3 separate regions of the Homo sapiens genome follow, and regions 2 and 3 are each linked to region 1. The links are contacts of gene promoters, found by promoter capture Hi-C in blood cells and fetal thymus (Javierre and others, 2016). All regions are on one chromosome and are shown on one strand. Each heading gives the region's core, a stretch centred on a gene start or on the middle of the fragment in contact. The rest is flanking DNA. Distances are from core to core; before and after follow the strand shown. Region 1 holds the start of LTBP3 (latent transforming growth factor beta binding protein 3). Region 2 overlaps TIGD3 (tigger transposable element derived 3). Region 3 overlaps DPF2 (double PHD fingers 2).

Region 1 (4,604 bases), core at 760-3,259:
TAAAAGCAAATTCCTCACCATGGCCGGCCCCTCCCACCACCACTACACCTTCGGCTCTCCCTCTCCACCACACCCTGTTGTTCCACTGGCCTTCCCTCAGTTCTCTGGATAGCCTCCCCCTGCAGCCTCCCCTGAGGTCAGATGCCCACAGGTGTGACTCACTCCTACTCATCTTCCAGCTTCCGATGGAAGACTCTCTTTGTCTCCCAGGTCCCAGCCCTCTCCTGTCCTGCTTCCCTGCCCTTCTCTGTCACGGTACCAGCCTCTGTTGTAGCCACAGTTCTGTGTGAATTGATCTGGCACATATCCAGCTCTCCTAGTACAGCAGCTCCAGGAAGGCAGGACTGGTTCTATTTGTGGCCAAGAGCTTAGGATGTGGTGGAGTCTCAGTTTGTTGAGTGAATTTTTTACATTTATTTTTTAATTTTTTGTTTTTTATTACCAGTAGTTGAACATAGATGTTGAGTGAATAGATACCCATCTCACAAGCAAGGAAACTGGGGCTTAGAGACAGTAAGAATCCAACCCTGGACTGTTTGACTGTGCTGTGCTCCATGGTGAGCCACAGCCAGCTCTAGGCAGAGTCAGGACAGGTTCAGATGAGTGTTAGGAAAAAATGAGTATACAATGCTCAGCCCTGTGCCTGGCAGGTGGTCGGCACCTAGCATTATTCCCTGCCTCCGTGTGGACCAGGGCCCCAAGAAGCAGGGGCTTGCCCCTCACACCCCATCCTGGATTCCGGCAGCAGGGATCCCTGGGGACATGTGATTGTCCCTCCCAGCCCTGCACCGCTTAGTAAGGGGGACTTACTAAGCGTCCCCCTAAAGCTACCCACATCAACTTACGCTCAAAGTAAAAACAGAGTTCCTTGGACAGGTGTGCCTGAAAGTGAGTCCCTGAACCTCCTCTCCCCAATTAGACTGCTGCCCCGGGTGCTGTCCGGGAGAGGGTCTGGTGCCGCCCTGACTTGGCAGCGCTTTTCCTGGATGTGCCCTAGCCGTCCCCACCTCCTGCTGAGTTCTGTGAGTCAGAGACGGAACCCTGGGGTCTCCTGGCAGGCCCCACAGTAAGGCCTGGGCCCCCGCACGTTGCAGCCTTTCCTTCCAGACCAGCGGACAAGCCTGGTCTGGAACTATGCTCCTCTCCAGCCATGGCCAACCTGAAGACCCCCACCCCCAGCCGCTGCCAGCCCCTGCCCTGGGGCTCTGCTGTGCCCCTCTCCAGCCCCTGGGCCCTCGGACAGCGCCCCCGTCCTCCCGGCTGTTAGCCTGGGAAGGGGGCCAGGCCCTGAGCTCAGACCTTGGCGATTCCAGAGTGTCTGAGGCCCAGAGCCAGCCCCGCCAGCACGGCCAGACGAAAGGAAAGGGGGGAGGTGGCAGGGTGGGCACCAGGAAGCCATTCCGAGGGGGCTGGCAGGGAAGCTGGGTTCTAGCTTTGTTCTTTCTGCTCCTCTTCTGGACCCCACAGACTTCCTCCTGGGACCTCCGTGAGCCCTGGCCAAAGGCTGTCCCCACCCTTTAGCCCTTTCCTCAGAGGGGATTGGACCAGCACTAACGAGAAGTTACTTTGGGGCCCTGAGACCCCCACGTTTGCAAGGGAGGCTGGGAAAGAGCTGGAAGGCCTGGGCTCCGGCTCCACCCGGCCTCCATCGTCAGTGTGACCCGGCAGGGCCACCTCTCTCCCTCAGCCTCGGTATCTCGCTCTACGCAGGCCTCCCCGCCCCGCCCCGCCCGGAGGAATCCGCGGCCGGCCAGACGGTCCCAGGTGAGGGCCCTCTGGAAAGGGCCCAGCGCGGCCGCGGGTTCCGGCGGGGGCGGGCATCTGGGGTGGGGACTGTCCCCGCGCCACCCCCCAGCCTCCGCCAGCCTGCACACCCTCGCTTCTCCAGGCGGCAGAGGCGACGCTTTAAACAACAAAAAAAAAAAAACTGTGTCCCTGGCCCGGGGCCAGCGTCCCAGCCCCCCTCGCCGCCGCCGCGCCGCGCTCCAGCCAGGGAAAACAACTGCTCACTTCTCCCTGAGCCCTCCCCGCGCGCTCCCTGCCTCCCCGCGGCCGCGGGAGAGGAGCCCGGCCAGGGGGAGGCGCGGAGCGGGCCGGCCGCCCGGCCTTCCTCTCCCTCGCTCCTCCTCTCCGCCTCAACTTGCTCCGGCCTCCTCGCTCCTGCCTGAGTTCGGGGCCTGGTCTGGGCTTCGTCCTGGGGCTGGGAAGTTTCTGCGCTCCCCGCTGTCCAGTCTGCATCTCCGCGCCTCCCGCCGGGCCCCCGCGGTCCCCTCCCGCCCGCTTCCCCCGCTGCCCTCCCTCGCTGCCCCCTACCCTCTCCCGGGGCTCCCGGCCCTCTACTCCCTTCGGGCGCGGGCCCCTCGCCCCGCCCGGGCGCGCCCCCCCTCCCCCGGGTCCTGCGGCCCCGGATGCCCGGGCCCCGAGGGGCTGCTGGCGGCCTGGCCCCTGAGATGCGCGGGGCGGGGGCGGCGGGGCTGCTGGCGCTGCTGCTGCTGCTGCTGCTGCTGCTGCTGGGCCTGGGCGGCAGGGTCGAGGGGGGGCCGGCCGGCGAGCGGGGCGCAGGCGGGGGCGGGGCGCTGGCCCGCGAGCGCTTCAAGGTGGTCTTTGCGCCGGTGATCTGCAAGCGGACCTGTCTCAAGGGCCAGTGTCGGGACAGTTGTCAGCAGGGCTCCAACATGACGCTCATCGGAGAGAACGGCCACAGCACAGACACGCTCACGGGCTCCGGCTTCCGCGTGGGTGAGGGCCGGGGGCACGGCTGGGGGCAGGGGAAGGACAGGCACCAGGCCCGGTGGGAGAGCTAGTGGGGTCTTGGCCTTAGAGACTGGGGGCTGAGGGTATAAAGGGCAGAGATCCGAGGGCCTGGGGGACCAGGGGCCTCAGGGAACTTGGGAGGCTGGAACTCTGGGGGCCAGAGTTGGAGGGCTGCATGGAGGCCTGGACTTTGAAGCTTTGCGTTAGGGTTGGGGCCTAAGGGGTGGGGAAATGCAGAGGTCCTGGATGACACTGGCTTCCCAGAAGGTGCTGAGTTCTGAGCAGGAGCACACAGGGTTTTTGAGGAATGTGAGCCGGGGACAGGAAGCCTCAGAGAAGGGCTAAATATTCCCGCAAGAAGCAGACTTGCTGGAAGAAACAAGAAAAGTCTTTACAAAATGTCTAAAGTAGGGCCTGCCAGAGTAGACACCTGCATTCCCTGGGAGGAGGAGCTAAGGTCAGGGCTGGGGATGGGAGCCGGCTACTGGCAAGGTCTGAGTAGGGAGGGTGTTGAGGCCTAAAAGTAGGGTGCAGGCCTGAAGGTAGGGACTAGTTCGGGGTTCTCAGCCTCTCCTTTTCCAATGCCTCCCCATAAGCTCCTAACATCCTGCCTCAGAGGCCCTCAGGGCCCCCCTCATCCTCCCCCAAGCCCCTACACCCTCCCCAGTTCAGCTTGGAGTCCACCCCCTCCCCAGCATCTCTCTTTAAAGGGCCAGGCCTGGGGCTCAGTCATCCTCCTGCTAGGCCCCGTGGGCCAGGCTCGGGGAGGTGTCCCAGCAGTAATTACCCTCCTGGACAGGGTAATTAGGCCAGGCCCAGGATGGCACCAGCAAAACAGCCCCTCTTACACATTCCTATATTCACTCTCCCACTCACAGAGCTAAGGAACCCCACTCATGTGGCTCAAATTTGTCATGAGATGGGGTGTGCGTGCGTGTGTCTGTGCGCATATTGCCCCTGTGTCTGGGGTCATGCCATGGGCATGGCGTGGCACACTGTGAAGTACCCGTCTTTGTGTTGTCTTGGGTGTGTGTCTCTAGTCGCTGTTAGAGAGTATGTGGGAATGTTTTTGTTTTTGTGTTTTTGAGATGGAGTTTTGCTCTTGTTACCCAGGCTGGAGTGCAATGGCGCAATCTCAGCTCACTGCAACCTCCCCCTTCTGGGTTCAAGTGATTCTCCTGCCTCAGCCTCCCAAGTAGCTGGGATTACAGGCATGCGCCACCACGCCTGGCCAATTTTTTTGTATTTAGTAGAGATGGAGTTTCACCATGTTGGTCAGCCTGGTCTCAAACTCCTGATCTCGAGTGATCTACCTGCCTCGGCCTCCCAAAGTGCTGGGATTACAGGTGTGAGCCACTGCGCCCGGCCAAATGTATGGGAATGTTTATGTGAACCTGTGTTGGTGTCAGGATGAGTCTCTGTGTGTGTGTGACAAGAGGACTGTGGGTGTGAGTGTACGTGTGTCCATCTCCCAGGCTCCCTGGCCATCCTGCCCAGGCTGCTGTCTCCATCTGTGCTGCCCACATCCCCCAGGCTCGGTGCCCAGGCCACAGTGGGCGGGTGTCATTGGGAGGTCACTCTCACCGCTATGAGTGACTCACTGGCAGAAAGGAAAAAGAGAATCCTACCTCCCCCCGCCCAGGACACACCCCTCTGCTCTGTGAGGCCTGGCCCCAAGAGGCCAGGCAGGATGGGCTGGGCTGGGATGTGCTTAGCCTGACCCTGAGGGCCATGGATATGGGCTGTCCCTGTGAGGCCCTTCTGGCATCCAGGAGAGCAGCACCCCCGCCCTCCTGCCCTCCTGCCCTGGGAAGTGAGGGCAGCCATGGGGTGGGCAGGAGAAGGGCTGG
Region 2 (4,238 bases), core at 1,021-3,520, 200 kb after region 1:
GATAGGCCCGCAGGTGGCTTCATAAGTGTTTGAAAGGGAGTTGTTAGTTCGAGCTGCCAGGTGTGGAGTTGGTCAATTAGGACAACGAAGCAAGCTGAAAGTAACACAAAAGCTTCTTTTCATTCACTAAAACCTACAAGCAAGGGGCAAAAACAGGCCCCAGCTCCCCAGCGTTCCATTTTACAGAGCAGCACGGGACAAGGGTCAGACAGGAACAGTCTCATCGTCAAGGAGTTTCAGAATAAAAAGAATAAAAGCTCCTGCCTTTTTACAGACCTGACCTGAAGTGGGCTGTAGGGAGGCAGGGGAGAAGGGCTGAAATGAGAAGTACTGAGTCAAAGCGGAGAAAGGATAGAATGAGAGGTACTGCGTCAAAGCGGAGAAAGGATGGAATGAGAGGTATTGAGTCGAAGCGGAGAAAGGATCTCAGTCATTGCTCCCAGTAAGGAGGTCTTGGTAAAGGCTGTTGGAAACTGCCTCAGCCCAGGTCTCCAAATGGAGGTGCCCAGCTAGGAATGCAGGTGAGCTTAGGAACAGGGCAGTCTGGGGGCCTGGAGTCCTTGACTGCAACTCTCTCCGGAAACCTGCAATGCACAGGCGATGCACCAAGCTGGGGTGAGAGAGCAGCTTCCCTCCATGAGGACTGCCAGGCAAAAGTCTTGTGACTGCCAATGGTGAAGCCTGAAAGGTCACCCTTAGGATTTTGGCCTGGAGCCCGTATTTTTATTTTATTTATTCCTTTTTCAAGAGGGAGTCTCGCTCTGTCGCCCAGGCTGGAGTGCAGTGGCGCTATCTTGGCTCAGTGCAACCTCCACCTCCCAGTTCAAGCGATTCTCCTGCCTTAGCCTCCTGAGTAGCTGGGACTACAGGCGCTCGCCACCACACCTGGCTAGTTTTTGTATTTTTGATAGAGACGGGGTTTCACTATGTTGGCCAGGCTGGTCTTGAACTCCTGACCTCAGGTGATCCACCCGCCTCGGCCTCTCAAAATGCTGGGATTACAGGCGTGAGCCACCGTGCCCAGACAGTATTTTTATTTTATTTTTTTATTTTTGAGACGGAGTCTCATTCTGTCACCCAGGCTGGAGTGCAGTGGTGCGATCTCCGCTCACTGCAACCTCCGCCTCGTGGGTTCAAGCGATTCTACTGCCTCAGTCTTCCAAGTAGCTGGGATTACAGGTGTGTGCCACCACGCCTGGTTAATTTTTGTATTTTTAGTAGAGACAGAGTTTCATCATGTTGGCCAGGCTGCTCTTGAACTCCTGACCTAAAGTGATCCACCAGCCTCGGCCTCCCAAAGTGCTGGGATTACAGGCATGAGCCACTGTGCCCGGCCTGCAGCTTGTATTTTTACCAGCTAGAGTCTATCTGCGTCCAAAGCCCATATCCTTTCCAGGTAAAACCATTTTCTTTTCTTTTCTTTTTTTTTTTTTTTTGAGTGAGTTTCACTCTTGTTGCCCAAGCTGGAGTGCAGTGGCACCATCCTGGCTCACTGCAACCTCCACCTCCCGGGTTCAAGCGATTCTCCTGCCTCAGCCTCCTGAGAAGCTGGAATTACAGGCATGTGCCACCACGCCCGGCTAGTTTTTATATTTTTAGTAGAAATGGGGTTTCACCATGTTGGCCAGGCAGGTCTTATAAACTCTTGACCTCAGGTCATCCACCCACCTCGGCCTCCCAAAGTGCTGGGATTACAGGCGTGAGCCACCGCGCCCTGCTGGTAAACCATTTTCTTTACATCCTACTCCCAGGATCTGGCTCACGCTTCACCTTCTCTCACCTGGATCAGTCAGAGGCTCTCTGCCTCTAGGTTTCACATCTTTGACACACCCTACACAGACTCCGTTATTCTAGAACCCCAAGAATGACTTGTTCCTGCCTACCTAAAACCCTCTGATGGTGTCCTACCCCTAAGCCTGGTTGGCTAAAGGCCCTTCCTACTCTCCAGGTCTCTCCTTGTACTCTGCCCCTACCTCCGCAAGTATGCTATGCTCTGGCAGAACTGCCTGCCCCCGCCCCCAGCACACTGTGCTCCTTCACTCCAATCAGACTCTGCACACGCTGTCCCTTGGCCTGGGACGCCCTTCAAACTGCAGCTCAAAGCTCACCTCCCCCTGGAGTCTCCCTAGCTCTATGGGGCCAGGCACTTTGCACAGCCGTTATCACAGCCTTAATCACACTCCACTGTCATTGGCTGCAAGGTTCTGTCCAGAAGAGACATCATCTTTGCAACCTTGTTCACATAGGAGGTCTTGCTGAAGTGATGTTGTGAAATAAGCAAATGAAAAAAAAAAAAGAAAGAATGAATGACTATTCCATTCCAATTCCGGCTCCTTTCTGTTTCCCTGACATGTCCGTAGCCTGCCCAACCCCAAACACACACAATCTGAGAGCGAAACTATTGGAGCTGCAGCTTATCTGGGGCAGTAGCTGGGATCTGTCTGTCCTGGAGCTTCCCTCTCAGGAGGGTAGCCCACAAGCAGTGCCCACACCCTGAGAGTCCTTGCTGCTGAATATCTGGAAAAGGAGGATCCCTACTGGTCATGGACAGACAGCTGCACCGCAGTGACCATCAGCAATTAATTTTCCAAATCTGAATGGAAAATGTTTACCCTTCTCCCATGAAAATAACACCCTGGCCTCTTTTCTGATTAAAAACTTTATTTTCAGAAGCAGAACTGTTTTTAACACAAAGTTCAAGGAAGCAGTCTGTCCAAAAAGCCCAAATTCCACCTTTCTAAGTGGCTGCCTCTAGACTAACTCCCTTTCAAAGGCTCTAGAACTTTCAAGCAGGGTCTAGAAACTAAGCATCCTGGATTCCTACCCCCGAAGCCCCATCTTTAGAGCTCTCTTCCTGGGGTTTGGACGACTGCCACTCCAAGCTCAGACTTGGTGTCCCAACTTCTCTCCCTTCTACACCTTTACGACAGTTCTATTTCCACAGGAAAGAGACAGCCCGATCTGCCTTCTGAAGAGGCCGTTTCCATGGGAAACAAGAGAGGAAGGGGCTCTGGCAAGCAGTGAAGGCGCCTTCATAGGCAGCAAAGCCGCTCCACCTCCTCCTCACAGTCGTAGAATTTTTCGAATAGCTCAGGAGAAGTGCTGTTGCATTCAAACCACCTCCTCAAGGTGCCCAGGGCCCGGAGGGCATCAGCTTTGGTGGGCAGGGGCTCAAAGGCACCCTCTCTGTCCCCCTTCTCGTCTTCAGTGCCTATCTCCTCCTTACATACTCCAGACCTTGGCTCCTCACCCTCCAGGTCCACAAAGCGGGAAAACTCCTCCAGGCTCAGCCCGCCGGGGACTGGTGGCATCTCAGAGGTTTTGTGCGAGGACGGGGGCGTTTTGCCGGGAGCCAGCCCTTCTTGAATGAAGCTGCTGAAAATGAGCTGAGGAGGCACCTTGGCCCAGGCGGCAGACGCCACGTGCAGGGCGTCCAGCACGGTGATGCCTGCCCCGGCCTCGGCCAGCGAGGTGCCATCCCTCTCGCTTTGGATGGCAGCCAGTTTGCCCAACAGCCGGTGTCGGTAATGGGCCTTAAAGGCCCGGACCACTGAGCTGGGCAGGGGAGGCGTGGTGCTAGAGGCGGCCAGAGGCAAGAGCTTCACGTGGTAGAGCCCAGGCAGGCCTGCCAGCTCCTCCACCACTCGGGCAGCCAGCAGCAAAGCCACCTGTCGGCCCTGCTGTCCCATGTCCCGGTCAAACTGTGCCAACCACTCTAACCAGGGGATGCCCAGGTCCGGGTGGTAGGAGGCAGGCAGAGCCTCACTGCGGATCCCAAAGAAGCATCTCGGGGCAGCCTGGAGCCCACCCAGCAGTACCCGCCGCTTCTCGGTGCCCCTGCTGTTGGCACACAGCAGCACCTGTACTTGATCACATGCACCAAAGCTGCCGGGCACTGCCCGATACAGCAAGGGCAATTCAGCACAGCCAAACACGTCCTCTGGAGAGAAGTCTTTTAGGGAAAGAGGCAGCTGAGCCTGGGATGTGAGCCCCGGGGGAGGTGGCTCAGGGGGGAATGAAGGCGCAAGAACATGGCGGGCCCCAAAGCCGACGTTGTTTCGGCGTTTCCAGCGGACCAGCCAGCCGATGCTGGGCACGAAGTCCTGGCCCATGATATCGGCCAGCTCCTTGGCTTTGTGGAGCAGCATGGGCCCCGTCACGTCCCAGGCCTTGGCCCGGGCAATGTGGTACCAGCAGAGCAGAGCCTCGTCGATCCCGCTGTACTTGGACTCCCGCTT
Region 3 (3,977 bases), core at 1-2,500, 220 kb after region 1:
CCTTCTTCAGGGTCTGGTCTGTGTCTGCAAGCAAGGTCAGGATAAAGCAAGGCTCAAAAGGGCTGAAAGCAGACTGCTCTGAGTCCACATAATGCTGGGGCTTACCAAAGGTCTGTCACTATCTTTTGTTCTCTGCACGCCCAGGAATTAAGACACCCTAGTTCACTTGGCACCATAACTTATCTGTTTACCTGTCTCCCCTTCTAGACTGAGGTCCTTAAAGGAAAGAATCACATCATATTCATTTGAGTATATTTGGGATCTAGTACTGGGCCTGGTATATCACAGTGATTAGCAGGCTCTCACCATGCAGCAGGCCACGCCTCTGCTCAGGAAGTATGTGCCTTACCTGGCTTAATAGATGGGAAGGAAAGTCGTGGATCCTCAGGGGGATGGGCTCGCCGCTTTTTCCGCCAGCGCCGGGCAGGGTAGGAGTACAGCTGTCCGGAGGCCAATCCTGTGGCAGGAAGAAAGATAGAAGTCAGGCCCTAACCCAGTATTAGAAAGTAATACCAAACACTTTCTAATTAAGTAGGCCCCCCTTTGAGTTCTAGAGCAAGGGAGAAATTCTGACAGTGAGGGCCTAGGGGGTTAGGTGGAATAGTCTGTGGAAAAGAAAAATAGATATATAAGCTTCAGGGCCTTGGCTAACACATAGTTCTCCAGACACACAATGGCCTCAGCAGGGCAGAAAACAAAGATGCTGGTATCAAACATCTGCTTCATCCTCCCTGGGTTTCTAATCACAGGAAGACCATATTCATCCATAGGTGGAAGGCAGTAGGGAAAACCCTATCAACTGTCTCATCACCTAAGATGAGGAGGCTTCTTCCTCCTTATGCTCCTGAGTCCCCTTCTCCCAAGTCTGGACCCTCACCTGGACCCCGGTGTCGCTTTTCCATCCAGATGTAACAATTGCTCTGGGCTACTCCGGTCTGTGAGTCCAAGAAAGGCAGGCGCACGCTGCGCTCAGCACAGAGGCGAGCATTGTAATTGTGGCACTGCTCCATGGCATCTTTGTAGTACTGCTCCCCAAGGCTGCAGGGAAGATAGAAATCAGGCGTGTATGTTGGAGCGGGGGGCATAGGGTGCTGAGCTATTCCTCTCCCCTGCCATCTGCTTCTCTAGAAGGCTCAAGGGACTGGGTGGCTGTCTCTTCCGTTCTATTTGCCTCCACTTCTGCCTCATGGGACACGAAGCCCCTTTTCTAGGCCATCATGAGGAATTACTTTACAAATAAATTACCATCAGGAACACATGATTTCATCATATGTCTAATCAGACTTAAGTTTAACCCCCAAAGAGGTGAAAGAATGTTCACTCCACGTGTCTCACAAGCCCACCCCTGTGCTAGTTAAGATGCTATTTCTCTTAACCCTTATGAGGCTAAGAAGCAGATGATAGTCCCTCCTAAGTTCCTCCTTATTCCCTCTTTCCTAGAATCACCTCCCAAATAAACTACATGCTCCCACATCCTTGCCCCAAGGTCTGCTCCAGAGGGAAAGAGTTCAAAGTCTAGGGGACTTATTAAAATGTATTTAGCAAACTATGGTAAATCCATACAATGAAATTCTACTTAGCCATAAGAAGGAAGCTCTTCACATACTGATATTAAACAATTTCAAGTTAACTAGGGACAAAAAGCAAAGCAAGGTACACTGCTGAGAAGCGTCAAATAAAACTATCATTTATGTAACAAAATGGAAAAGAAACTGCAGGTCAGCGGGGAGAAAAAGTGGGTGACTAGGCCACTTCCTTCCATATGCCTTTTTATATCTTTTGAATTTTGAACTAGGTTTTTAATCAACTAATTAATTTTACATTTATGGAAGATGTCTACAAGTACCTGAAGTTCCTTGAAGCTTTTATTGAGCACCATCACTCATAAGAAACTTGTTTGCTCTAAGGCCCATCTTAGGGTTCTTCTCCATTCTCACAAAATAAAATTATATAGGAAAAAATCTTCTTGGTCTCAAAAGACTCAATTTGAAATCTGAATCAAGGGTAAATCTTTAAGTGGAAAACTGGAAAACTGCACAGTGCCAGGAGTTATCTGGTTCTAAGAAGCGTGTATATAGAACCTATCTTGTTCTCATCTTGCAGGGTTTAACAAGGACTTTGGTAATGGAGGTTAACAAACTCGATCTTATATTCAATCAATCTTGTTTTTTTTTTTTTTTAAGAGACAAGGTCTCACTATGTTGCCCAAGCTGGACACAAACTCCTGGCTCAAGTGATCCTCCTGCCTTAGCCTCCCAAGTATCTGGGAATAGAGGCATGTGTCACAGTACCTGGCGTCAATCAATCTTAAACCAAGGGCAGAATTGATTTATTTCTCATAGTATCCCTAATACTCATGACGATGTCTGAGATACAGTCAGACTTGACTTGAGAGTAAAAAGACCTGGCTTGCCTGCAAGTCACACGAACATGGACACTTAGTCAGCCCAGGTGGACCTTGGTTACTCTTCTATAGATTGAGGAGGTTGGACCAAATGAGCTTTGACATATCAGGATTTTACAAGAAACAGCCTGGGGATGAGACAGCAAACAGATTAAGTCTCTGTGGTTTCTGTCCGTAACTCGGGCTACACCAACAAACCCTGCTCTAGAATGTGACAGGGTCCTTCAGTGAGCAGCCACAATAGACCACTGCATAACTTAGCATGTGCCCAGCAAGTAAAAAAGACACATACGACACACAGAGACGGCAATGCCACAAATATAGCCTGGCGTGATTCAATGAGCTGTAATGACTGTAATCTGAGGTAGGCACGAATCTCACGTTGGAGAGCAGAATGGAGAAGGCAGCCTTGCCTCTGTGGGCTCGCCTTTAGGAGGCAGCCACGTCTTCACCACACAGAATAAAATTGGATAAACAAGGTTGAGTGCGGCAGCTCCTTTGTTTCTGCTGATGGGAATTGATACGGACACTGGAAGTCAAATGGAAGGCAGGGCCAGGCTGGCGAGTGCTGCAAAGTCAGAGCAAGGAGGCTGGAAACAGTTTTGCGGGGAATGAATGAGAGATGTTCTGTCAGGGCTCTTGTGAGCTACATAAGGCAGGCAAACAGTCTTGGGGGTAAAAGGGCTGGGAAGGAAACACTGAAGTGTGGGGGGAGAATCTCATGAAGAGAGAACAAGACAGCATGACAGTGAGCTCTTAAGAACTTAAGGGAGGCCGGGCACAGTAGCTCATGCTTATAATCCCAGCACTTTGGGAGGCCAAGGCTGGTGGATCTCTTGAGACCAAGAGTTAGAGACCAGCTTGGGCAACATAGTGAGATCCCATCTCTACAAAACGTTAAAAAATAAAAATAAAAAAGGCCTGGCGCAGTGGCTCACGCCTGTAATCCCAGCACTTTGGGAGACTGAGGTGGACGGATCACCTGAGGTCAGGAGTTCGAGACCAGCCTCAACATGGAGAAACCCTGTCTCTACTAAAAATACAAAATTAGCCGGGCGTGGTGGTACATGACCATAATCCCAGCTACGGGGGAGGCTGAGGCAGAAGAATTGCTTGAACCTGGGAGGCGGAGGTTGCGGTGAGCCGAGATTGCGCCATTGCACTCCAGCCTGGGCAACAAGAGCGAAACTCTGTCTCAAAAAAAATAAAATTAAAAAAAACAAAACAAACAAACAAAAAAACCATCAGCTAGGCTTAGTGATGCATGCCTGTGGTTCCACGTAGCCCCTGGGGCGGATGAGGTAGGGGAATCATTTGAGCCTAGGAAGTTGAGGGTGCAGTAAACCAAGGTTATACCACTGCACTTCAGCCTGGGGGACAGAGGGAGGCTCTGTCTCTTAAAACAAAAAAAAGCAATAACAAAAACTTAAGGCTCCGATACCAAGAAATGTCAAGTTAACATTAACATTGTTCTCTCTCTCTCTCTCTCTCTCTCTCTCTCTCTCTCTCTCTCTATATATATATATATATATATATATATATATTTTTTTTTTTTTTTTTTTTTTTGAGATAG

Evidence for each region. The method cuts DNA at HindIII sites, captures the fragments that hold promoters and counts their contacts. A CHiCAGO score of 5 or more calls a contact.
Region 2: a contact is called between a fragment that was not itself captured here and the fragment with the promoter of LTBP3 in region 1, in 5 of 17 cell types (endothelial precursors, monocytes, neutrophils and 2 more). The highest score is 10.4, in endothelial precursors.
Region 3: a fragment that was not itself captured here is called in contact with the fragment with the promoter of LTBP3 in region 1 in 1 of 17 cell types (monocytes); the score reaches 6.5 in monocytes.

Annotation. Positions count from the first base shown.
Region 1 is chr11:65,555,764-65,560,367 of GRCh38, reverse strand. It overlaps LTBP3 (latent transforming growth factor beta binding protein 3), which reads left to right and starts at 2,009. Exons shown (of 28, transcript NM_001130144.3): 1 at 2,009-2,739. The coding sequence starts at 2,409. RefSeq lists silencers at 1,731-1,890, 1,941-2,180. The HindIII fragment of the contact is 7,741 bases long and covers 1-2,952 here.
Region 2 is chr11:65,356,019-65,360,256 of GRCh38, reverse strand. It overlaps TIGD3 (tigger transposable element derived 3), which reads right to left. Exons shown (of 2, transcript NM_145719.3): 2 at 2,644-4,238. The coding sequence ends at 3,033. Among named protein-coding and RNA genes, the nearest start is that of TIGD3, 3.4 kb to the right of the region's middle. The HindIII fragment of the contact is 4,312 bases long and covers 115-4,238 here.
Region 3 is chr11:65,337,446-65,341,422 of GRCh38, reverse strand. DPF2 (double PHD fingers 2) reads right to left here. Exons shown (of 11, transcript NM_006268.5): 2 at 878-1,038; 3 at 350-457; 4 at 1-24. Among named protein-coding and RNA genes, the nearest start is that of DPF2, 5.6 kb to the right of the region's middle. The HindIII fragment of the contact is 1,229 bases long and covers 636-1,864 here.